Regions from separate parts of the Homo sapiens genome. Here regions 1, 2 and 3 are each linked to region 4. Evidence: promoter capture Hi-C in 16 types of primary human blood cells and fetal thymus (Javierre and others, 2016). All regions are on one chromosome and are shown on one strand. Each heading gives the region's core, a stretch centred on a gene start or on the middle of the fragment in contact. The rest is flanking DNA. Distances are from core to core; before and after follow the strand shown.

Region 1 (6,040 bases), core at 1,941-4,440, 550 kb after region 4:
GTGTATTCACAGAAGGGTATGGAATTATGGGGATTCCACCCTTCTTTTCTGCTTCAATGTATAAATTGCAGTGCTTTTATAATAAAGTGAAAAGCAATGGGAAATGAGATGAAACAAAGAGGCATTAATTCAGACCAGAGCACAGAGAAGAAGGAAAAGGGAATATATAGCTATTGCCAAAATAGTGACATACAGCAAACAACCACAAAAATCGACATGGCACAGATACAGCAATAAACACATTTCTCAGTCATCTGTGGGTCTACTGGCTTCATCTTGTTGATCTCTAGGTCAGCTGGAGTGGCTTTGTCCCACATGTCTTCATTTCAGGTACCAAGTAGAAGGAACCGAAACCACCCAGGGAAAGCCCCCAGGCAAGGGCAGAAACCCAGGAGGCCAGCAGAAGCCTGCAGGGTCTTACAAGGGGCAGGCTGAGAACGGGAACCCTCTCACTTTGCCCCATTCTAGTGGCCAAAGCAAGTCACAAGACCAAACCGAAACTCAATGGGCAGGGAAATACAGTCCGCCCAAGATGAGCAATGGCATGGGTATGAATGGAGGACAGGAAAGAATTGGAGTTAATCCTTCAATCCCTCACAGTATGGAGGGCAGGGTCTGTTGACAAGCAGCAAGAGGTACCCAGGAAGGCAGGGCCTGGCTGTCCCCACCAGCACCCCAGACACCCACCTCAGCCCAAAGAATGGCTCAGAGCCACGCTTTCTAGGCCATGAAAGGAGAGGGGCCCTTTCCCTCGTGACCCCAGAGCAGATGGCAGAATACAGTCTAGGAGGAAGTTCCAGGAGGAACATGAGAAACCTCACAAGCCTCGTGCAGTTTAGTTTCTGATAACCACTTCTCTTTCTTTGTCTCATGTTTCCCTTCCTTCGTGAAGTTCCTAGAAAGTGTAAATTTTTCCTTACCTTTAATTTTTTCTTTAATTTTTCTTTACCTTTTTTTTAAGTTGCCATCTAATCTGCCCTTGAAATGCTCTATTCTGTGCCAGTTGTCCATTTCAAGATGGAGTCACTTGTTTCAAACCCAAGCAAAGTAGAGTCAGGAGCCTAAGAAGGGAGGGTCCTCATGCACATGCGCCTACAATAACAACGATTACAGCCAAACACAGTGGCTCACACCTATGGTCCCAGCTACTTGTGAGGCTGAGGCGGGAGGATCACTGGAGCCCAGGAGTTGAGCCCAGGCTACAGTAAACTATGATCACGTTGCTGCACTCCAGCCTGGGCAACAAGGCAAGACCCCATTTCTAAAAAGAAAAGGAAAAAAAAGGACTATTACAAAGACTCTCTGAAGGCTGTGACACACATATGCCTGTAATAAGGACTATTTCCAAGGGCCTTCCCAACTGCAGCCTGCCACAGGAGTCACTGGACGGCCGGCCACATGTTGGAGCACTCTCACCTCACATGCCATCTCCACTAAGAATCTGACCTCAACTCCTGTGCCCAAGTAACCAATGTTCTCTTTGTTCAAAAACAACTCAACAACTCCTGTGCACTCCTCCTTTTGCCTTTATTTTTTTGAGACCAAGTTTCGCTCTTATTGCCGAGGCTAGAGTGCAATGGTACGATCTTGACTCATTGCAACCTCTGCCTCCCAAGTTCAAGCGATTCTCCTGCCTCAGCCTCCCAGGTAGCTGGGATTACAGGCATGTGCCATCATGCCCAGCTAATTTTGTATTTTCAGTAGAAATGGGGTTTCACCATGTTTATCATGCTGGTCTTGAACTCCGGACCTCAAGTGATCCACCCGACTCAGCCTCCCAAAGTGCTGGGATTATAGGCGTGAGTCACCACACCCAGTCTTCCTTGTGCCCTTAAAAGCTTCCCCTTGCCTCAGCCTCCTGGATGCGCCCATGGCTGCTGTGGCACGGGCACTCCGCATCACAATCATGCTGCTCATTTCCAAATAAATTCATCATCTTTGGAGAATCGCTTCTGTTTGTTATTTAGGTTGATAATTCTTCAAAAAAAAAAGTCTATGACTTCAGTGACAAAGAGGGAAGCTGGGAGGTCGGGAGGAAGGTGTGTTAGGAAGAATGTGTCTGACTCTGTGGTTAGTTGGGGTGGGGACCCTTCAGCCTCCTGAGTAGGAGCGGCAGGCCTGGGAACAGGGGAGTCTCCTTCCTAGGTCCTATTGCCTAGGCCCACATGATGCCTACCTGAGGCATATGCACAAAGAAAAAGTCCTTAAAATTTTGTTTTTCTCTAGAACAACCTACAGTCCTAGGGACAGACACACCATCCTCCTAAGTCCTATCACACCCTGGAAAATTGTAACAAAAAGGTGACAGTCTCCTTGGGGCATTGCCTGCAGCCTTAGCTAGGGGCCATCCTAGTTATCTCAATTACTCATCCAATTTGTGATCAGCCCTAAGTTCTGGCTCACTCTAGCTCTCTCCTTCGACTTCCTCATCTCCCAAATGGAAGTGACTACCCCGACCTACCAGGCTGTTGTGGGAACCGAACGATGTGGCAGAGAGTCCAGCTCAGCTTCCTACCGTTCCACGAGGGCCACTGAAAGGCCAGTCCTCTTCAGCCTGCAATGAGAGAGATTGAAAGTGGAAGCAGGTCTAAGCTCACAGAATCAGGAAGAAGGTAGAATGCTGAATACACTTCTTCCTCCAATCCCAAATGCTAGAACTGTGTTTCTATCGAAGTTTTGTCATCGACTTTTTAGAATCAGAAAAATGATTAAGAAACATGAGCTGAGATATGCAGGTTCCTTGAGCAAATAGGATTTTGTACAGCAGACACCTCCTGGTGTCTCATTTCCTGAGATCCCCAAAGTGAGAGATAAGAAAGCTGTGGCCGCAGCAGAGACTTGAAACAGTGACCAGAGACCAACTCTTCCACAGGAAGGTGTCTGCACAGAAGACTCACAGGGGCAGCTGACAAAGATCTGTCTATAGCCTGGTCCACAATAAAGATCAGGGGTTGGACAGGGTGAGACACCCAACACGGTGGCTGGAGCCACCCCCTGTAACTATCAACAAACTTGCAGCCCAAGGTCGAGCACAAATAAGTGGGCACAGAAAGACACTTCAGGACACGAGCTACAGAGAGGCAGCCACCTGGCCATCCTCCAGCTGCCTGAGGTTTGCAGATGCCCTTGATGCCACCCCCTATCCCTCCCAAGCACTCTCCTCTCCGTGCACACAGATGCTTAACAAGAGCACCTATGACTCTCCACAGACCAGAGCACCAGGGACACAGTGCCCCTGGGAGATGCTGCCACCAAGGCCAGATGGAAAGAACACCCCTGTGTTCTTGCTCCATGGTTGGCATCTGAGACGTACCTGCCAGGGTTCCCCAGCAGGATCAAGCTCAGTGGCCCAAAGTGGAAATGAACTTACCAGTCATCCTCCAGTGGCCTCCTCTCTTTCTCACTTTCCCACTCCCCCACCAGGGTTTCTCGGGATCCACTCTCAAATAAACTACTTGCCCTTGAATCCTTAATTCAGGGGGAGTCAAAACAAAGACGACCAATCAGAGACAAATATTAACCATAATGATGTCTATTACTCAGATAGGATTGAAATCAACTCAGAAGGGCAGGAATGTGTGAAATCTTCTCCCTTTCCCTTCTCTGCTGAGTAATTGACTCTCATGCCCTAGAGCCTTCTCTACCCCTCTGTAAGCACGTGGATTCAAAACTGAATGTCCAAGTTCAAACCCAACTCCCCACAACCCAACGTTCCCAAGTCATCTAGGGAAATTTGCTTCACCTCTTCAAGTCTCCATTTCTCCAATGTTAAGACAGGAGAGTCTCAGACAGTTCACAGCGACCAACCCACCCCTACTCGGCCACCACCCACATAACATCTTACTGGGAGATTTCTCCCATTGAGTTCAAGTTCATAGCTGGAGAATATGGAAACTGCACACTCACCATGGAAGATAACACCAAGAAGTCTTTGTCTTTCCTGTCTTCTGCTTTCATCATCTGCCCCCTCCCACCAGACTGTGTTTCTCCATGACACCCTGTAGTTTGGCCACAGCCAAGCGGATCTGAAGACCATTGCCTCCAGAAGTTGGCATGACGATTCTAAGTTCTCCAGGTGGGAGAAGGAGGGGGATTTACTTATGTTTTTAAATGTTCTAGGACTTGTGTGTCCTGTTGAACTCCAAGATCTGTGGAAAAGGGAGTCACAAGAAAGACAAAATTCTCATAGTCCAGCTTCACAGGCACAGAAGGGCCTCAGCACCACCATGGAGCAGGCCCAGACACAGGGCTGAAGTGGGAGCTGGAGTCTCCCCAGCACCTAAGCAAAGCCTCTCTTCCCCACAGCTCAAGGTTCCAACAGCCCCTCCTTCTCACTCCTTTTCCCCCTTCAAGTCTTCCAAGTATGCACTCCAGACTGGTGTTGGTATTGAGTGTGGGCCGATGAAGGGAGAGTGGGGTGACAGAGTTGGTCTGTCCCTTTTCAATAACTGCCAAGAGGACTGTTGATGTTCTCTCTAGAATGTGAGGTACTTGACTGTCCTCGACTTTGAATAGAATATTCAAAGTGGGAATACAAGCTTTCCCACTCAAAAGCTAATTACACCTAGGAAAGAAAATCAACGGTATTTTTTATAAGCAGTATACAAAATAGTTGCCTAATTTTCTTCTTTTCCTTATAGCCCTGTGAAACTGTTTTGGAATGCACGTCATTTAAAAAAATATTCATAACCCAGCACAGTGGCTCATGCCTGTAATTCCAACTCTTTGAGAGGCCAAGGCAGGAAAATCACTTAACTCCAGAGTTCCAGACCAGCCTGGGCATAATAGCAAGACTCCATCTCTACAAAAAATAAAAACTTAGCTCGGTGTAGTGGTGCATGCCTGTAGTCCCAGCTACTCGGGAGGCTGAGGTGGGAGGATCACTTGAGCCCAGGAGGTTGAGGTTGCAGTGAGCTGTGTTTGCACCACTGCACTCCAGTCTGGGTAACAGAGTGAGACCCCCATCTCAAAAAAAAAAAAATGTATCTCAAGACTTGTTCACTTCAAGAAAAGTTTAGAGTAGCCCAATCCCCTGAGGAAATTGGAACCAAGGGACGATGAAACAAGGGTCGTATCTCCTTTTTGGCTTCTCTGCTGATGTGGTTCTTATCTGAGAATCATATAAACTGTTCCCAGTGGGCAGAGCAATGGCACAGCCAGGAGTGTCTGGGGAAACTGAAGCATCCTGAGCCCCCTCCCAAGTCATCTGTGTCTGGGTTCTCTGCTTATGCCCCACAAATAGCTCGTCCAAGTAGGACATTCGAACAAGCACCCCGGACACAGAATGTAATCCGCACCACAGCCCAGCATATGGCCTGGCTTTTTCTCTTCATCTTCATCCTTGTATGTCTAAAGAGAAATGTTTGTGTGGGAGGAGATGACATTTGAGTTCGTTAATTCAAAACACTGGTGGTAAGATGACTTATTCCAGGAACTTCAGTTCTGGATTTCATCAAATAAACTCAGGGACTCAACAGAAGAAAGTGACCGTCTTGTGAGTCCACTGAGCTCTGTCTCCAGAACAGAACCCCAAGGAGTCGGACACAGGAGCAGCAAAGTGCAGGCTGCCCACTGCATCTGCACCAAGGGGAAGGCACGGTCTCTGCAGGCAGCTGCCTCGTACCCCAGCAGCTGCACGTTGCTGCCAGCGCCTGGGGACCGCTGCCTCAGATGGAGAAGCTGGAACTCAGATCCTAGACTATTCCCCTGGGGGAATGCGATGATGGTTTCCAAACTTCACAGGTGCAGGCACGGTTCAAACCTCTGCTTTGCCCTTCCTAACTGCCTGAACTTGAGCAAGTGACCTCCACCCCCAAGTACTTCAGGTTCCTGATCTATAGAAGGAAGATCGTAACGATAATGGTCTTGTGGAGTAGGATGAGGATTAAATAATCTCTCTCCAGTGGGGACTGTTTATTATCTCACACCCCATGTACCCCAGGGACAGAAAATGGGGTTAGGGGGCAGGGCGTGGTGGTGCACACCTGTGGTCCCAGCTGCTCTGGAGGCTGAAGCAGGAGGATCGCTTGAGCCCAGGAGG
Region 2 (6,549 bases), core at 688-3,187, 630 kb after region 4:
TGGGGAGCACATTGAAACCACAGCACCCTCCCTGGCCCTGGCTTCTCCCCGGACCCACCAGCTCTACCTTATTCCTTCTTTCCCTCTGCCCTCCATGTGCTTCTACACTCACTCCACACTGAGACAGTTCTTGCTAAAGTCACCGCTGGCCTCGCTAGGTCCAGTGCTTTCTGGCATCATCTTCCTAAACCTCTGGGCACACACTGCCAGCCGTGCCTCCTCCTCCCAACATCCCCTTCCCCACCTCTGTGACACCACATGCTCCTGACCTGCCACTGAGCTCCTACCGGCTCATCTTCATCCACCCACCCCTCTTACTCCATGTTGGATCCCCTCCCAGTGAGGTCCTAACCTCTTCCCTCCTCACCCTCCTACCGCCAGGGCAAGCTACTTCCTTCTCCAATCCCCAGTCTCATCTCTGCTCTGATCTCGATCTGCATGCAGATAACACAGTTTCCCATCTGTAGCCAGAGCTCCACCAGCCCTGTTCAGTCAACATCTCCACTGGCATGTTCCACAGACACCTCACACTTCTCTCCTCACTGCCCTCCTGAGTCTCTCTCTCCCTGAGGATCAAAACCATGTCTACAGCTGTTCAAGCCAGAAACCTGGGATTCACCCCTCTCTGTTGACCTCGACCCCAACATCTTATCAATCACCAAACCCTGGTGCTTTAGTCCTGAGGTATTTCTGGACTTTGTTTTCCCATCTTCACTGCCTCCAGTTTTGTCCCTGCCACATTCGTCTCTCACCCGGACAATCACAATTATCTCCTGCTGAGATTTATTCCCTTTTATCCACTCTCCACACAGCAGCCAGAGTAAGCTTTCAGAAATGCTATTGGGACCAGGCGCGGTGGCTCACACCTGTAATCTCAGCAGTTTGGAAAGGTAAGGTAGGAGGATCACTTGAGCTCAGAAGTTCAAGACCAGCCTGGGCAACAAAACAAAACCTCCTCTCTCCTGAAAAAAAAAATAATAATAATAAAAACTAGCTGGGTGAGGTGGTCCTGTAGTTCTAGCTACTGGGAGGCTGAGGCAGGAAGATCAATAGAGCCTAGAACATGGAGGCTGCAGTGAGCTCTGATTATGCCATTGCACTCCAGCCTGGGCAACAGAATAAGACTTTGTCTCAAAAAAAGAGAAAAGAAAAGAAGACAAAAGAAAAGCTGTTGCTTTGCTTTCTGATTTTAAAAGTATTAAGGCCAAGCACAGTGGCTCAAGCCTGTAATTTCAGCACTTTGAGAGTCCAAGGTGGGTGGATTGCTGAACCTAGAAGTTTGAGATCAGCCTGGGCAATGTGACAAAATCCTGTCTCTAGAAAAAAATACAAAAATTAGCCTAGGATGATGGCATGCACCTGTGGTCCAAGCTACTTGGGAGGCTGAGGTGGGAGGATCGCTTGAGCACAGGAGGTTGAGGCTGCAGTGAGCCATGATTGAGCCACTGCTCTCCAGCTTGAACGACAGAGCAAGACCCTGTCTCAAAAAATAGTTTTTAAAGTTTTTTTATATTTTAATAGACAAATTATCCACAAGTTATAAAAATTTAAAAGTACAAAGGGAGTACAGTTTTCCTGCCTCTGTTTTCCCCAGCTGGACAGATCCTCTCCTCACAGGCAAACACTGTTATAAGTTTCTTGTTTTTCCCTTCTAGAAATATTCCATGCATTTACAAACACAAAAATTTGTTCATTTTTAGTTTTAGTTTTTACTCACATAATTGGTAACACATGCTCTGCCTGCAATATCCAATATGGTAGCCACCAGCCACAGGTTTAGGAACACTTGCCATGTGGCTGGTGTGACTGAGGTATTTATTGGAATGCTAAAACAAGAGATTGATGCTTCCAATGTTGCTTCATTTCACTTTAGGGTACATATTGAAGATATTTGTGCTCAGTTTTCTGAAATTTATTCTATGCAAGTCTCATGGCTACAGCCATTAAAACTAATTCCGTATTTAAGTGGAAATGCTATGAATCACTGCTGGTTTTATGGAACTGTTGAAAGCAATGAAAGATAATGAATTTAATGATCTTTTCTTTACCAAAGCTCATTGTCAGGGTTGTAGAAGAGTTCTCCTAAGATTTACTGTACTTTTAACTAACTCCAAGATTTTCTTGAGACAGAAGCCATGATTACCAAATATACAACAATAAGTATTATTATTATTTGTTTTGGGGACAAGGTTTTGCTCTGTGGCCAAGTCTGAGAGTGGTGGCTTGAGCCTATAATCCCAACACTTTGGGAGGCTGAGGTGGGAGGGTCATGTAGTGGCATGATCATAGCTCACTGCAACCTTGACTTCCCAGGCTCAAGTGATCGTCCCCCGCCAGCCTCCTGAGTAGCCAGGACTACAGACTTTTGCCACCACACTCAGCTAATTAAACTTTTTTTTTTTTGTAAAGATAGCCTCTCTCTATATTGCCCAGGCTGGTCTTGAACTCCTGGGTTCAGTGATCCACCCACCTTGGACTCCCAAAGTGCTAGGATTACAGGCATGAGTCACTACTCTCAACCCAAATATTCAATAATTAAAAATAAAAAAGTCAGTGTTTTCTCACCAATACCACACTACATATAAATGGGCTAAATTTGAATATCCAAGGAGATGAAACCTCATTTGTGACCTAGCCAGATAAATATAAGCATTTCAAATTAAATATTTTCATAATACTGACAAATAATTACAATCTACATACTTTTGTCACAAGAATCAACATACAGAGGTTTTAATTGTAATATACAGCATTGTGTAAATTGGCAAAATTTCAAGAAAAATGTGAAGAATTCTTAGTTGATATTGATAAATTTAGAATGGCTTTTGAATTTATGCAATATCATTTTTGAATTTATGCTAATGGTACCGAATTGACACAAGTTGGAAAATGTACTTAACTTCAATAGGTGTAGTTTTGCAACTGATATGCTCTTACTTCAAAGTCAAATCACTTCTTCTAAAAAAAACTATTTTTGTCAATGTGGTTGCAAATATTAAAGGACAATGTTTTTTGGTACTCAGTTCAGTTATTGGAAAACTAAGCTTGGAACAACTGGATACGTGAGTCTACTTTTTTAGCTGTCATGACCAGGAAGATCATTAACCATCATTAAATAGTGAAGTCCTGTTGTTGCTCCCCTGGACTGGGACATGTTACCTGGAGCTGAGCTCATGAATATGCCCTAAGTAGTCCTTTCACACATCCACACCTATGAGTGCTCTGCAGTAGGACTGTCCACCTCTTTGGGGTGCACCTCACATACCTACACCCAAAGTGAATTTTGTGTGGCCATTTAAGTATAGCCAGACTGGCTCCTTCCTCACCAACTCCCACCACCCTGCTCCCAACCTACCTCCCCACCTCAACTGCCTCACCTCCCCTGCAACAGACCTGATGCAACTTTCCCCCCAGCCCCCACCAAAGTCAGGATGAGTTTCCCGCTTTGCTCAGCTCAAGTCCTACCTTGTCCTGGAAGATTTCTCTCCTCACCCATCCTCAGGACGTCCCCCAGCATGGGTCTGTGGGGGCCAAAGGAAAACTTCCCCTTTGCCTTCTGAAGGTTTGCTGAAAAATCAACTGATGAAAGGCAGATTAATAGAATAAATTGATTCATTTATATTTTAGAGACAAGGTCTTGCTCTGTCCAGAGAGGCTGAAGTACAGTTTCATGATCAGAGCTCACTGCACCTTTGAACTCCTGGGCTCAAGCAATCCTCCTGCCTCGGCTTTAACAGGAAATATTTATTAACATACATGAGAGAGAACCACAAAGTGATTACCCCAACCCCTCAGTGGGATACAGAAGCTTATCCACCATCTTGAGTTTATACAAATATGGGGGCTCAGATAGTGGCAAGACAGGTTATGGAAGGGAGGGAAGAGGAGGCCTGGTTGGCAAAGGGAGTCTTGTTAGGTAGATGACACCTCACAGGTAGCAGCCCTCAGAAAGAACTGAGGGTAAATGTTTCTTTCAGATCTGTAAAGGTGTCAGCCTCTCAGTTAATCTTTCCTAGAGTTAGACAAGGGAGAGCCTCGGAGAAAGCCTGGCTACATCAATGCAGATTTCCTCTACAGATGCAAATCTCTCCACAAAAAGACAGCTTTTTGGTTATTCTATTTCCAACCATTCTGAACAGCCACCTTGAAATGTGTCAAAGAAGTATTTTTTGGGGTGAAATATTTTGGTTTCCTTCAAGTTCTTGGGCTGGGAAACATCTTTGGGTGCATCTTTTCTCTCTAACCCCATCTAAAGCTTTCAGGGAACACGGATCCCATCTCTTTCTGCTTAAGGGCGGCTGAGTAGCTCACAGCTGGGGAGTGAAGTACCCTAAGTAGTGGTGGGATTTCAGACACCTGGAAGTGGTTAATGGAAGCCGAGTTTCTTTCTGGTGCCCCCAGAGCACACTGTAAAGGAAATTCTCAGCTCTAAGTGGAGAATCCTGGTTAGGGGTGCGTAAGTAGGGGACAAAAGCCTTGTGCTCGGCACTGGACATCAGTTGCTTTTCATGTTTCTTCATTTAATCCTCAAAACAACTCCTTAAGACAGAGTTTCTGATCCCCATCTTACAGATAAAGAAACAGAAGTTCAGAGAGAGCCATGAAGTTACATGAGATCCTCTACTTCAGGTGATCCCTGCGGTGTGGGAACCAGAGGCATGGTGTTGGTGGTTACTGACGTGCAAAGTCTCAGAGCTTCTTCATCCTTGCTCCAGCGTACCCAGGAGTCGAGCCGGTATTTGGACAGTTTTCCTTGAGTTTCTGCTCACCTTATGAATTCCATCATGCCGTTCTGCCACACCCGAAGGCTCCCCCACTCCCCATGAGAATCTATCCCACGGAGAATGGGGCACGAGGAATGGTCAGGAAAGGCAGATGCAGGATACACACTGGACATCTTTGCTGTCGATCAAGGTTGCAGGCGCCAGAGTCCTCCCTAAAGGAGAGACCTTCCTTCTCAGTGTGGCTCAGGGAGTGGGAGGCAGGATCAGGTGTAGGGACCTCGAGGTCTCATTTGGTTTGAGAATGTCTGTATTTAGGGGAAGAAATCCCAGGATGAGTGTCTCAGGGACGCTGGGGAATGGTCCCCCGTAAAGGACCCAAGACAGGGCAGCCCTGCCTGGGTAGGAGTGGGGCACAGAAAGTCCTTGGGGGAGCAGAGCAGCGGAGAAGAGGCCCGGGCCGGCCGAGGCTGCGGAATGCTCAGGCCCGAGCCAGAGGGAGGTGGGACCGAGGGCTGCGCGCCTGGGCGAGCCGCCTGCAGCCGCGGCCAGGGTCAGGGTCATGAGGGCTGGATCGAGGGGAAGGAGGGGGGTGGGATGGGGAGGGAGGGCGCGGGAGGGCATCCCGCCCCAGAGGCCGGTCCCACTGGGGAGGGGAGGAGCCAGAGTTGCTGGAGGGGGTCCAGGAGGTGGGGGTGGGAGGAGGTGGGGGCCGCCCCGCGAGAAGAAGAGCGGGAAGAGGCGGACAGCGAGGCCAAGATTTCAGCTGCGGGACGGTCAGGGGAGACCTCCAGGCGCAGGGAAGGACGTGAGGAGGGGAAGCGGGCTGGGGCGGCAGCCGGGCGGAGGGGCAGCTGCGCAGGCGGAATGAGGAACGCCTTTGCTCTAAGGCGACCACCCTGGCAGCTCTTCACTGAGGGGCCTCGGTTTCCACATCTGTCGCTCTCCGGTCCCAAGACCACCAGGACCGACGGGGCTCTCCGGGAGGGTCAGCCCCTCCGGTGGCCCCAGTCATGCATCAGGGGACGGATCAGAAGGGCTAGGAAGAGGGGTCGTGGGGAAGGCCCCAGAAAAAAGAGGAAGGAGGGAAGATTTTGCCTGAAGCGGGAAAGCCAAGGGCTGGGCGGCGCGAGACCCCCATTCCTAGCGACTGGGGCTGGCTGGTGGCCCGCGGCAGCCCCCGCGCCGGGAGGATTAGGCCTCCCGCCGCTCCCACCCGTCCGGACCCTCCCACGTGTTTAGGTCCTCCCAAAAGTATTCGGCCTCCGGCCCCTGCCCCTTCCCCCGGCTGGCCTGGACCTCGGGGACGTGGGGGGAACCCCGTGGGAGCAGGGGGATTCTGGACGGGGAGGGAGTAGCGGTTGGGGAGAAGGCTGAGCGGGGAAAGGAGAGAGGGGCTCCGGGGACGGCAGGGAGGAGAGTGGGTCGTGCCGGAGACCCAGGGAGAGACACAATGGGCAAGATTAGGGGTGTAGGGTGGGAGTGCGAACTGACTGATTCCTAGCGTGGGCAGGGAACTTTGCTAAAACTGCAGGCCCCAGGGAACAGCGCGGGCAGGGTGGGAGGGAACGGAGAGGGCCAGGCGGACCCTAAGGTCAATTTGGAGAAAGGGCCATTTCCAGGCTCCTTCACCTGTGCCCAGCGTTCTACAGGCCTGGACCCCGCCCCCGCTCCCCACCCTCCCCCCAGAGCAGGGCGCGGGAGGAGGCGGCTCGGGCTGGCTCGGAGAGCTGAGGGGCGCACACCCGCTTCGCAGGGCCAGGGTGACACGGAAGCATGCGACGGCTGCTGATCCCTCTGGCCCTGTGGCTGGGTGCGGTGGGCGTGG
Region 3 (6,252 bases), core at 1,722-4,221, 530 kb after region 4:
TGCAGCAGATACGCCGAAGAAAGTGAAGAGTGGGAAAGCCCTTTTTCTGTGCAGCAATTTGGTGGTTCATACCTTTTCAAAAAATGGGGTCTGTGGCACTCAGGGGAGAGGCTGCACTGCAGGGAATGACCCAGGGAGGTAGTAAAGGCAGTGGCAGGGCCCACTTTCGAAAAGGGCGAGGCAAAGCCCACAAGGGCCTTGGCAGAGGCCTCTCTCTGGAATCATCTGGATGGCTGCACGGCACGGGGCAGAGCCCACCGCAGCTTCAGACACCTCAGAACCTCAGAACCGGTCCACCAGGGGAAAAATATTTCCGGTGGGTTCAAACCTAATCAGCACCGGGGATCTTCTAAGAGCATCTTTCACCCAGATACACCCTATGGAGAGAAGCTCTCACACTAATGCCCTATCTCCTCTCTCTCCTCAATTTTCTTCATAACATTGATTCTATCTGATATTATTTATATTTTATAATTATTTATTAATTTTATTTTTAAATGTCTAAATGTTCTCTGTACTACCCTTGGTACAAAGCTCCATAACAGCATGTGCTGAAACTCCAAACATGCCTGTTTTGTTCTGTGTCCCCAGGCCCTAACATTGTGCCTGGCATGTAGTATATGCCCAATACGTGGAGGTAAAGGAATGAACGATCACAGGAGAGACAGAAATGTGAAGAAAAGAAGAAAAACGGTTTTTAGAACTGAGAGGGAGGCCGGGCGCAGTGGCTCACGCCTGTAACCCCAACACTTTCAGAGGCCAAGGCAGGTAGATCCCTCGAGATCAGGAGTTTGAGACCAGCCTGGTCAACATGATGAAATCCCCGTCTTTATTAAAAGTACAAAAATTAGCCAGGCATGGTGGTGGGTGCCTGTAGTTCCACTCGCATGTATATATATATATATATATATATATATATATATATCTCACACACACACACACACACATATACACACATATATATACATATATACACATATATACATATATACATACATATATACATATATATACATATATACATACACACACACATATATATGCAAGTGAAGTGAGATGTCTCTGTAAATTAATTTAAGAAAAAAAGACACTAGTGAGAAAACAGCAAGCTGAAGGAAGCAGAGGCCTCCCACAGGTCTGAAGAAGAAAGAAATTTCTTTCCCAATTAAGCGACACAGCCTTGCATGGTTCCCCAGCAGAGTATGACCAAACCAATGAGTCTTGGCTGGACTCCTGCCTGCAGCTCCACATGATGTCAGGACCTACACACACACACCCACATACACACACGCACATGCACACTCCTACCACACATACAGCTTCCCAGCCAGTAGCACTTCACCCCAACATGTAGAAAGTGCACTTAAGGACAAAAAGGTACCCAAACTCACCCTCACTCACGCTCTGCCAGCCCACATTTCCCTCTGCTCAATTTCCCAGGCCACTCTGGAGACCCCAGCAGAGCAACTGAGAGAAAAAGAGAGCGTTCTTCCTATAATTCACTGAAGACTGTAAAGGCAGCCTCTGCCTCCTTCTCAGGAAACAGCCCAAGGCAAACGTGGACTCAGGCATCTGAGCACAGCATCCAGCCATGCGGGGATTCATCCCACATCTAATCGCAGTTCCCACTTACAGAGCAGGGTGGTTGGAGATGCCTCCAGAGCCCAGCGTGGGGAAGACCTTAGACCCAGCCCAGCAGGGCAACCATCAAGAGGAAGGGAAGAGGTTAACTGCTGAGGACCAGGTTGGCTGAAATGTAGGTGAAATCAGAAATATTGCTTTTGGTAAGGTCTTGACCCCTCCAATCCCTCCAATGCCCAGTTCACAGAATCCTAACTGTGCAAGGGGCAGGAAAGATCAGAAAAGCAGACGTGGAAAAATCAGCATCCCCCACCCCCTGCTTTGCGGGAGGAGCTCCGCTGGCTTCCTCCTGGGGGCTGCTCTGCGGCACCATCTAGCTTCATGGGGCATCTGACCGGCTGCTTCCGCCTGCTTCTTCCTCCCTTCTGCCAGTCTCAGCCCTCCTCCTCTTCAGGGCTCACACCCACTCCCCGACACGCCTTCTTTTAGGACAGCCACTCTCATAGATGTCTGGGAATATGCCTCTGTCCCCATCCTGCCGAATCTACTCCCCAGCAGGCTGGGGAGACACGCTTTGGACCAGGAGGAAAGCTTCCCAGGGCCCCTGCCATTCAACTCTGCCATTCAACCCTGCCATTCAACCCAGCCTCCTCTCCCATGGCTGAGCAGGCTGCCTTCCCGGTGCCAAGCCCATCCTCCCCCACAGCCATGCACCAGTGCACACACATCTACACACGAGTGCACATGTCACACATGCACTGCGGTCGTGTCCCATGGGGTCCCACGGCGTCCCACAGTCTCCGAGGCTCCGCAATCCACCTGGCTCTATCCCTCCATCTCTCACCTGGGTGGAAGCAGCTGCTGGTCCCCCAGGGCACAGGATGTGAGGAAGGTGAGGAGGGTGAGGGGAGAATGGCCGGAGAGCGACCCTCTTCCCAGGCCCTGGTCTTCCTGGCAGGAGGGTTTCGGGTGTTTCTGCAAAGGAAGAGATTTCTAGAAATAGCCTTCACATCCACAGAGGCATAAATGCAGTCGGAGAGGAAGTTCCCTGTGCAGGCCACAGGCTCAGAACCTCGAGAGCCGTCGGGGCTCAGGGAGGAGCCAGCATCGGGGACACACGCGCCTTCCCTGGGTGCTGAGCGCCTCGTGGGGTCACAACACAGCAGAAACTGAGGAGCCCGGCCCGTCCCGCAGCTGCAGACTGAGAGGAGGGAGGAGAAATGACAGCAGAGGCTTGGCCAGGGGCTGGGGCGCCGGGGCCGGTGCCAGGCTGAGCTTCAGAAGGGCTGCAAGAACAGGGGCTTGGATAGGGCAGGAAAAGGACGTCAAGCCAGTTCCTGTTCCTGAGAGGACAGAGATTGTGGCGCCGCTACAAGCTCTGAGCAAAGCCAGCTCCGGGCCTCTGTGTGCCCTTAAGTGGCCTTTAGGACTTCCTCTCACAAGTCCTTCCTCGCTTCCCTTCCCTTCCCTAAAACCCACAACCCGGGGAACTCCAAGCCTGACAGACCAACGCTGCTTCTCAGGGAATGAATGCTTTTCCCCAGCTTGCAAAACGTGAAATGCTAGACTTCGATGCTTTCAAATATTTCACAAAATGAAATCCCTTTTGTGAAAGAACATAGTGTCCAAACTACCTGGTCTCTACTTCATAAGGAAGTCAAACACGGAGGAAGACTTCTTAAAAAATGTTTACTAGGGTAAAAATGATGTAACATTAATAGTACCATCCTAACCATTTCTAAGTGTATAGCCCACAGTAGAAAGTACATTCACATGGTTGTGTGCCAGATCTGCAGGACTTTTCATCCTGCAGCACCCAAACTCTCCCCATTACACCCCAACTCACCTCCCCGAACCCCAGCCCGGGTAACCACCGTTCTACTTTCCGTTTCTATGATTTTTTTTTTTTTTTTGAGACAGAGTCTTGCTCTGTCGCCCAGGCTGGAGTGCAATGGTGTGATCTCGGCTCACTGCAACCTCCACCTCCCGAGTTCAAGCAATTCTCCTGCCCCAGCCTCCCGAGTAGCTGGGATTACAGGTTCCCGCCACCACACACGGCTAATATTTGTATTTTTAGTAGAAACGGGGTTTCACCATGTTGGCCAGGCTGGTCTTGAACTCCTGACCTCAAGTGATCCACCTGCCTCAGCCTCCCAAAGCGCTGGGATTACAGGTGTGAGCCACCACACCCGGCCTGTTTCTATGATTTTTGGCAACGTCAGATACTCATGTGAGTGGAGTCCCACAGTGTCTGCCCTCCTGAGACTGAGCAGAATGCCCTAGAGGTTCATCCAAGTGAGTGCGGGACCCTCTGCGCTCTGCACAGCAGGGCCCTCTTCACAGGATGCAGAGGCTAGGGCCTCGAGGGACTGGAGCTCAAGTTAGTTTTCCAAATGTCTGAGGTGGTGCTAAGCTTTCCAAAGGGACCCCGCAGAAGGAGGAGCAGTGGGGGTGGCTGAAGTAGAGGGGCATGCTTCAGATATGAAGTCTCTACAGTAGTCAAAACCACAGGCTTTGGGGAGCTGCTGTCAGCCTATCACATCCCGAGGGATCCACCCTCCCCCTGGACTGGTCTTCATGCGCCAGCCTTGAGGACTGCTCTACCTTGTTATGAACCTGAGGGAAACCCTGGTTATGCTGGGATGGCTCAAGAAGAGCTTTGGGGACACACAGGACACATCTTGATGGGGAAAGCTGACAAAGCCCTTCCCATGTCCCACTCTACCTGTCTCCTCATTGAAAGAGGATCTATTTTGGAAGAACCCCACCCTTCCTTTACAGTAGGTCAACGCACATAAAACCAACTCATTATAATGAAAAGACAAAAACCCGAAGCCAGGTACTGCAGTTCATCCCCGCTGGGGTACTAACAGAGGCAGAGGCTCAGCAAGAAACTGTTTCCCCAAAATAGAGAAGAAAAGGCTCACTCATTCTTAAATGAAATATTAAGCATCCAGGGATTGCTCTAAGTAAAACTGAAGCTGCAAATAACTCCTCAAAGATTCAGCAAGTCGATTATTTGCTGAGTTGACCATTTTGCAAAATGATCTTTCAGCAAATCAGCTCCTAGAGAATTGATTTCCGTGCAGAAGGCAGGCTGCCGGGTTCTGGTTTGGCACCGATCTGAGGCAGGATGGGGGCTCCCTGCCCCCTAGTGGCTTTGTGGCTAATGACAAGTGCAGCAAAATGCTCCCCAGCGGGCCGAGAGCCCTGACTCAGCAGGCAGGTGAAACACTGGGGAGAAGTTCTAGACTTCCAGAAATCGAATAAGCCAGGAAGACACATGTTATGCAAGCAAGGAGAAATCTACCAGGACCAAGCACCGTATTAGACACAGAGGGCACAAAGATTAGCAAGGCAAATACCTGACTCAAAGGGGCCCTAACTCAGTCTGAGGATGGGGAAGAGACTACGCTGTGGTCACGAAACGAGGTAATGTGCTGTGATAGAGATGCGTCCAGGCTGCCACGCAAGTGAGGAGGAGACGATGTAAACCCCGCAAGATGGAAAAACAACCAATTGGGGAAATAAACTTATAAACAAATCCGTAAACCCGCCATTTCCTGTGGCAGGTACTGACGGAGTGGTAGAGACGGAGTTTCACTATGTCCTGCCATGGAGAAGATTGTAAGGCACAGTGAAGGGAAGGCCGCGCGGGAAAGGTAATGCCTAAGTCTTGAAGGGCTGTAACATTTGCCTGTCAGATGACGGAGGGAGGACGCCTCAGGCAGACGGAGAATGGCAAACGCCACCGGCATCGGGGCCCTAAGACAGCCCAGCAGGTGCGAGAAAACGCAGTCAGGCTGGAGACAGAAGGACCGGTCAGAGGCTGCTGCAGCACCCAAGCTAGAAATGAGGAGAACTAACGCAGAGACAGCAGCAAGGGGAACAGATTTATTACAAATAGAAACAATAAGGCCGGGCCTGGTGGCTCATGCCTGTAATCCCAGCACTTCCTGGGAGGCCGAGGCCGGCGGCTCAACTGAGGTCAGGAATTCGAGACCACCCTGACCAACATGGTCAAACCCCGTCTCTACTAAAAATACAAAAAAATTAGCTGGGTGTGGTGGCACGTGCCTATAATCCCAGCTACTCAGGAGGCTGAGGCATGAGAATTGCTTGAACCCGGGAGGCGGAGGCTGCAGTGAGCCAAGATAGCGCCACTGCACTCCAGCCGGGGCAACACGAGTGAGACTGTCGCGGAAAAGAAAAGAAACAATAAAAGAATTTCTTAAAAAGATGAATTCACAGTTGTTAACACGATTGACCCAGTTGCCACATCAAAGGGAGTGCTATTCACTGCAGACATCTTTGTTATTTTGGAAAACATTATTATACGTTATTTCATTTCAAAGATGGAAAATGTGTGTGTTTACTACAGCTTTGGTAGATGGTAGTAAAGTGTCTTGTGACTAAATTTGTATATTTTGACAAGTTTTTGATGGAATTAAGTATCTTGTTCAAATGGAGTCCATGTCTGTTATAGTAATTCAGAAATAATATACTTATTTTAAAACGTTTAGCTTCTCCTGTAATTCCAGCTCTTTGGGAGGCCGAGTCGGGTGGATCATTTGAGGTCAGGAGTTCAAGAGCAGCCTGGCCAACATAGTGAAACTCCATCTCTACTAAAAATACAAAAATTAGCCAGGCATGGTGGCATGCACCTGTAAT
Region 4 (6,625 bases), core at 4,061-6,560:
AGGAACAGATGACTATTAAGTTTTCAGGCAGAGGAAACTGAAACTGGCCCCTTCTCTTTCTCATCTGGGGGTAAGTATAGATTGGTGGGGAAACCCACACCTGACTCCTCTTGGGATCTTGCTTTATGAAGATGTTCACCACCTTCCTTTGTACCTGAGAAAGCCCTTACCATGCAGAAGGACCAAAATCGCCCAGGAAATTTTCCGAGCTGACCCAGCCCACTCAGAGCCCTCCTTCTTCTGAACACCCCTCCACGTATCCTCAACATCACCAGATTGTTCTTCTGACATTTCATATCCAAGTTTTTTCATGCCTATTGGTTCTTTTCCCGGTTAGATAATGAATTCCCTGTGTTTGTGGTTTCCAGTTAGATGCTACTGTGATGCAAACACAGCAGATAAAATGGGAGATTGATCAGTCTTGGGGGCTTCTATCTTGTCCTAAGGGGTCTCCTGCACCACTTATTTTTAGTCTGACATAAATATGCAGGATGGATCATGGTGCTATTTGTGGAGTAACCATTGGCTCCAAGTGCACCCAGGATGAGAGAGCAGAGGCAAGAGGTGGAGGTGAAGATGGCTATTGAGGAGAAACAGAGGAACCACTCATGGGTGGGTGTGTTGCTGTGTGGAATTAAGGAATCACTCACTGCTAGAGCTGGACGGGATCTCAGAGATCAGCTTGTTTGGTCTCCTCATTTTACAGGTAAGGAAAGTGAGATTTAGTGGTACTCCTAAAGTTACACAACAAATGGGCCCTTTTCCATCACCTCTGACCTGGTTCAAGTGTTGGGCATCTCTCCCTTGGACTATTGTATTGCTCTATGTGGCAGATGATATTTTCCCAAGGTGGTCGTGCCAATACATATGCTTTTCTTCCAGTGTGACAGCAACACCCCTCCACTGAGAGGTGGGGGTCTGTGTTTGTTCTCCTTGCATCTGATGGGTCACGATTACAGCAGAAGTTGTTTTATGTGATTTTTTAAGGCTAAGTTATTCAAGGAGATACAGCTGCTGACTGGTCTTCTCTTGGGACACTGGCCCTTGGAACACAGCCACCATGCTGTGAGGGAGCCAAGTGGCCACACAGAAGGGCGTTGTGTAGCTGTCTGGCCCCAGTCCTAGCTGAGGTCCCAGCCAACAGCCAGCACCAACCACCAAACGTAAGTAGATGAACCTTCCAGTCTCTAGTTTGGAGTAAAGCAGAGAAAAGTGGTCCTGGTGGAAACTACCCCAGTTGCAAATCCATGAGCAAAATATATCCAACTAAACCACTGGATCTTGGGATGGCTGTTATGCAGCAATAGGTAATGGAAAAACCTCATATCCACCTCATTTTCTCCAAACTATTATACACGTTTCATTCAATCAACAAACCTTTCTTGGATACCTACTCTTTGCCAGGGTCTGTACAAAGACAGAATATTTACATTCATGGATTCTGCATTCAGCTGCCACTACTGTTTCCTTACTGTTTCCTGCCACTACTGTGTCCCCCTTGCAGAGATAATAAAATTCATAGTCCTCATCCCTCTGCAAATGGTGCCAGCCTGCTGCTCCACTGCCACCACATCAAATTATTTTGTCCTCAGACCCAATCTCCATTCTCCTTTCTTTATATATCCTTATGTTGTCTCTTCTATCTGCAATGCTTCTGCCCTGCCCCACCTCCAACGTTCAAGGACCTGCACTGAAATCTCCTTCCCTGGCAAGGCCCTCCAAGACTCCTCCGGTTGAAATTAACCAACACCTCCTCGTAATCCCACAGCACTGACTGCAGACTGCAGTTTCTGTCTGCCCACCGTCTCCCTCAAAACTCACTAGACTGTGAATCCCTGGAGGAGGGATCCTGGCTTATCCCTCTTGTCCCCCAGCAGTGTCTGGCACAGGGCCCAGTACTTAGAAAGCCCCCAGTAAACACTTGTCGATGCAACTAGTAGCAGAACCAGAATTAGAAGTCAGATCTCCCGAATCCTAGTCTCCAGGGCCTTACTTGCTTCTTTTGACACCACAAAGGCAGGGAAAATGTCCCACCAAAGGTGGGGATCAGGTTGTCCAGAGAAGACCTTGGAATGGACCAGGGGTTGGCAGGATTGCTACATGTGGAGCTGCAGAGGGCGATGAGTGAAGAGTGTCCTGGCTCTTGGCTAGGGGTTTCAGGCGGGTTCCTTCCATCCTTTCTTCCTTCTTTCTTTCCTTCCTACTTCCCTTCTTTCTATCAATAAGCCCTGATCATCCACTTCTGGAGGGGAAACATGCTGTTTCTTTGATTCTTTTCTTCTCCAACTCCAGTTCACATCTGAAAAAAATCTCTATTCTGGGGACCCAGTTGCACAGAAAAACAAAAAAAACCCACCGTGTTCAAGCATCAAGGGACCTGCTCACTCTGTTCTTCCTTCCCCAGGGTTTCCCAGGAACCATTGCTCTGTAACCTGTCTCTCCTGTGCCCAGCCGACTGGAACTGCTTCCCAATCCCCTGTGGGTAACCCCAGGCTCTCCTGGGCCTGACTTTGGTGGTGTCTTGCCTGGCCCGCTCCTTGGGGGACCTCTGGCAGAGTGGGCTTCCATTTCTCTTTCTCCTTCCAGGATGTCCTGGCTCCATGCCTTCGGACTGAGCAGGAGCAGAGAGCAGGGTGGGTAGGATGCTTTCTGCAGACTTTTCTCCCTAAATTGTTTCTTTTTGGGAGCTGGGAGGAGCCTGGATATCTCACTGTAGCCTCTCTGTTCCCTCAGTCACAGGCAGGGTGCGGGAGAGCTCTTCCCAGGAATGGTCTCTGAAATGGCTCTTGGAGCTGAGATGGGGGTGGGGCAGATTCTAGAGGCTTAACAGCCCAGCTCTTGGTATTAGGGTTGGGCACTTTTCTCTTTGTCCCAGATCTGGGGGTAGCAGAGGTGGGAAGTTGAAGGCAGTGGGGGCTTCTCCATCAGCTCATCTGAGGCCCAGAAATGTTGCTTTGGGGAGAGCTTGCCCCCTCTCACCGTTTCTCTTCCTCAGCTCAATTCTTGAGTGTGGGGGCGGCTAAGTGGGTCTGCCTTCAGGCTCTACCCTGAGCCTCCAAGGAAGTCAGAAATCTACATTCAGCTTTGACTTCTGAGTATGTGGAGTGGGCTGGGGGGAGAGAGGGAGAGATCTGTCTCTCCTCAGCTTGAGGGAACAGCTCTCTTCTTGCCTCTGTGCACAGAAGGAGGGCTACCCCGTGCCTGGGCTCCTCTCTGTTTGGGAGGATGAAGGGCTCCTCTGACTCCTGTCTTCCCTTTGGGATAAGAGCAGAGGCCTGTCCCAGCAACACGGGTACAGGAGTGGAGGACAGCTGGCCAGCTCAGATGAGTGGCTCCTTCCCTTCAGGGCCTGGCTCTCCCTCTCCCTTGGTCTGGAGAGAGGGGGAGGCTACAGATGTCCCTTTCCCTTCTTGCCCTCCCATGCCCATTCTCAGCTGCTGGCCTTTGCTCACTTTCTCTCCATCCCCTGGCCTGGACAGGAGGACACTTCACTCACACATGAATCATCCTGGATTCATGGTAGGCAACCCAGCAGCCAGGGGTGGCCTTGGGGCGTGGCGGGGGCTGGGCCAGTCGTGGACTAGGTTCTACCCGGAACCCAGATGTGTTGATGCACCTGATGCCAAATGCTACACCAAGGAGGAGCTTGTGCTGTGGAAGGCCCTGGGCCCCCGGGGGGGTGAGTGAGGAAACTGCTGGCAGTGGAGAGGGCCTGAGGAATAACTGCACAGGCAAGAGCCTCTGGACTTTTTTAGCATCAGCTGTGGAGCCACCTCCTTCTCTCCCACTGGCTGCCTCCCTGAGTCACTGCCCACCCACCAGCAAATAAAAAAGAGTGTCATCTGCTGGCCAGTGGCCCCATTTGGCCCCAGTGTTTGCATCTTTGTGCTCCTGGGTGGAAGGTGAGAGTCCGGGTAGGGTGGTCTCACGACGACAGTTTTCTGCGCCTTCCTCCTTCGGGACTCCGATTCCTTCCCTGCCCTTTGTTCTTCCCCTCCCCCCATGATGGTTCTCGCTGGTGACAAGACCCAGCCCCTGCTCCAAGGACAGAGGCAGCTGCAAGCCCTCAGGAGCCCCCACATGGCCCCATCCATCTAGACAGGTCTCTGATCCGGCTGCAGGGAGGGGACCCTCGGCTGTTCAGCTGCGACTCCTCCCTCCCCGCCCGCCCACTCAGCTGTCAACACTCGCCTCCCCGCCCTGGCCTTCCCGGGGCCCTGCCTGACTGCTAAGTCCGAGGACACCGCGCCCGGAGACCCTCACTCAGACGCAAGCAGGCGATGAGCAGGCGGCGGGGCAGACACCCCGCCTGCCCTTGAGCATCCCTAGGCCTCCTTGCCTAAATAAGGGAGCCGCAGCTGGAGCGAGCCAGCTGGCCGGGGGGAGGGGCCTGCGGCTAGGCCAGGGCTTTCCGAGGGGCTGGGCCGTGGCCGCCGCCGCAGGGCCCCGAGCCCGCCGATTGGGCGTGCAAGGCTGGCCCCGGGCTGCCGGGGGAGGGCGGGCCGCTCGCACCCGGGGATCCCCTGGTTGGAACCTCGCGCTCAGGGACCTCTCTTTGATCCTGCAGCTAGGAGGCCGCAACTGCTGTCAGAATGTCCCTCTCTGTGCAGCTCCTATGCAGAGCCCCACAGAGGGCTCTCTCTCTCTCCGTGTGTGTGTGTGTATGTGTGTGTGTGTGTGTGTGTGTGTGTGTGTGTGTATGTGTGTGTGTGTGTGTGTGTGTGTGTGTGTGTGTGTGTTGGGGCAGGGGGCGTGCCCCTTCTAAGTTTAACCCTCCCTTATTTCAGAGCTCTGCTGCTCTGGGGCCTTCAGATTGTCTTGCTTTTCCTATTTCCAGGGTCTCCCTTGACTCCGGGCTCGTCTTCGAGGGTCCAGGCGTTGCCCCGGTCACCCACAGTAGGCACTGAGCGCGTGCTGTGTATACCAAGCCAGTGCTCGGCGTGGTGGGGAACCAGGGCATAAGGACCCGCCGTTTCCCTTCAAATCAGGTTTCTTAGTCGCTAATCTGGGGTGGGGGTGGAATCCCTTCCCCCATCCCGGCCGCCTACAAGCCGGCCATGGCACCTGTCCTCACGGTTTCCCCTGCCTAAGGGTCCCTTCCCCCTCTTCTGGGCGCGCGAGTCCCAGGGGCTCCTTGGCAGAGCGAGGGGCTGGCGTTGGGGGAGCACTCGGCGCGGCTCAGCCAATGGGAAGGTCGGGCGCGCGCGGTGGGGCGGGATGGGGGGGGGAGAGGGCGGTGCTGCGGGCGCGCGGCAGGCGGGAGGGGGCCGGGAGGCGGGGGCCGGAGCCGGAGGGGCGCGCGCCGCATTAACCCTTCCGCGGCCGGGCCGAGCCGCAGGCGCTGCCCGAGCCGCGGGCGCTGGAGCGGCTGTCGGCGCGGTGGCAGGCGGGAGCCAGGAGTCCGGGGCTCGGGCGGGCGGAGCGCAGCGCGGGGACGCGGCGGAGCGGGCCCCGCGGCTCGGCGGGGGCCGGCAGACAGGTGTGCCGGCGGCGGGCGGCTCGCGCTCAGGCGGCTCCAGGCCGGGCCCGGGGTCCGGAGCGGGGAGCCGGGAGCCGAGCGAGGACCCGGCGCCCGCAGTCCAGTCTTGGCCGCGCCCGTGCTCGGCTTGGCCGCGGGGTGCGGGGACCACGGCCCGGCCGGGCCACCCGAAGCCTAGTGCTGGGCCGGGCCGGGCCGGGGTGGGTGGGGGCCCGCCCGGCCCGCCCATGGGCTCAGGATGCCGGTGCGGAGGGGCCACGTCGCGCCGCAGAACACCTTCCTGGACACCATCATCCGCAAGTTTGAGGGCCAGAGTGAGTGGGGGAGGGGGCTGAGCGGGGAGGGGGCTCTGGGGGCGGGCCGAGCTCTTCCGAGTGTGGATGGGGGGGCGTGCCCGGGCCGTGTGCGTCGGCAAGTGCGAGTCAATGGGGCCTGGTGGGCCCCAGGCTTTGGCGAGGGGACGGCGGGGGCAAGGCTTGGTGCACCGGGGCCGTGGGCACCGGGCCAAAGGGTTTGGGGTTGGGGCTTGGGGCGGGAAACTCAGCTCAGGCTTTTGGGATCGGAGTGTGTGTGACACGCTGAGTGTGCAGGGAAGGGATGTGGGATGGAGTGTGCAGGTGTCCCCAACTCTGGGTGCGTGGACGTGGATGGGGCTGTGTGCAAGGGCATAAGAGTGTGTACGACCCAAACCCTGGGATCCCGAGAGTCCAGCGCGCACACTGGTCTTGCCAGATCTTGACTGTGTTGTGCCGGAGGGACTGAAAAGCCGTGGATGCAGGGTCAGCTCATAATCTCTTCTTGTGTGTGCCGTGTGTATATAACCCTGAGCCCATGTGTCACCCGTGAGTTAGACCCTGTATGGGCGGTGGGGAGGTGTCTTTGACAAGGCTGCGAGCTTGTGGGCTCTGTGGAGACAGGGTGTCCTGGGGCTAGAGCTGGGCTTTGAGGGTAAGCAGCTCCCTGTGGTACCCCCAAGTTGTGGGTTTTCTTGCCCTGGAGACTGTCACCTAATTCCCTTATGGGGACCGGGAGTACAGCACCCCTAATGCCTGCCTGGTAGGGAGGCTTCTAGAAGGGTCCCAGATTAGGCAAATGTCCTGGGGGTGGGCAGCATTCATGTGCCTGTCCCTAAGGCTGCATGAGCCA

The links. The method cuts DNA at HindIII sites, captures the fragments that hold promoters and counts their contacts. A CHiCAGO score of 5 or more calls a contact.
Region 1: a fragment that was not itself captured here is called in contact with the fragment with the promoter of KCNH2 in region 4 in 1 of 17 cell types (non-activated CD4 T cells); the score reaches 6.7 in non-activated CD4 T cells.
Region 2: a fragment that was not itself captured here is called in contact with the fragment with the promoter of KCNH2 in region 4 in 2 of 17 cell types (activated CD4 T cells and non-activated CD4 T cells); the score reaches 8.4 in activated CD4 T cells.
Region 3: a contact is called between the fragment with the promoter of GIMAP8 here and the fragment with the promoter of KCNH2 in region 4, in 1 of 17 cell types (total B cells). The highest score is 5.0, in total B cells.

The regions. Positions count from the first base shown.
Region 1 is chr7:150,430,251-150,436,290 of GRCh38, reverse strand. LINC00996 (long intergenic non-protein coding RNA 996) reads right to left here and starts at 2,637. Exons shown (of 4, transcript NR_034033.1): 1 at 2,462-2,637. RefSeq lists enhancers at 206-305, 526-745, 2,397-2,496. The HindIII fragment of the contact is 2,700 bases long and covers 1,841-4,540 here.
Region 2 is chr7:150,340,558-150,347,106 of GRCh38, reverse strand. It overlaps LOC107986858 (a long non-coding RNA gene), which reads right to left and starts at 5,262. Exons shown (of 3, transcript XR_001745420.3): 1 at 4,770-5,262; 2 at 3,466-3,579. RARRES2 (retinoic acid receptor responder 2) reads left to right here and starts at 5,478. Exons shown (of 6, transcript NM_002889.4): 1 at 5,478-5,529; 2 at 6,478-6,549. The coding sequence starts at 6,498. RefSeq lists a silencer at 6,370-6,439. The HindIII fragment of the contact is 2,219 bases long and covers 828-3,046 here.
Region 3 is chr7:150,447,349-150,453,600 of GRCh38, reverse strand. It overlaps GIMAP8 (GTPase, IMAP family member 8), which reads right to left and starts at 2,971. Exons shown (of 5, transcript NM_175571.4): 1 at 2,426-2,971. LINC00996 (long intergenic non-protein coding RNA 996) reads right to left here. Exons shown (of 4, transcript NR_034033.1): 4 at 5,461-6,252. The HindIII fragment of the contact is 1,822 bases long and covers 2,175-3,996 here.
Region 4 is chr7:150,977,006-150,983,630 of GRCh38, reverse strand. KCNH2 (potassium voltage-gated channel subfamily H member 2) reads left to right here and starts at 5,310. Exons shown (of 15, transcript NM_000238.4): 1 at 5,310-5,793. The coding sequence starts at 5,718. LOC124901776 (a long non-coding RNA gene) reads right to left here. Exons shown (of 3, transcript XR_007060592.1): 3 at 6,276-6,625. RefSeq lists a silencer at 4,293-4,642. The HindIII fragment of the contact is 24,052 bases long and covers 1-6,625 here.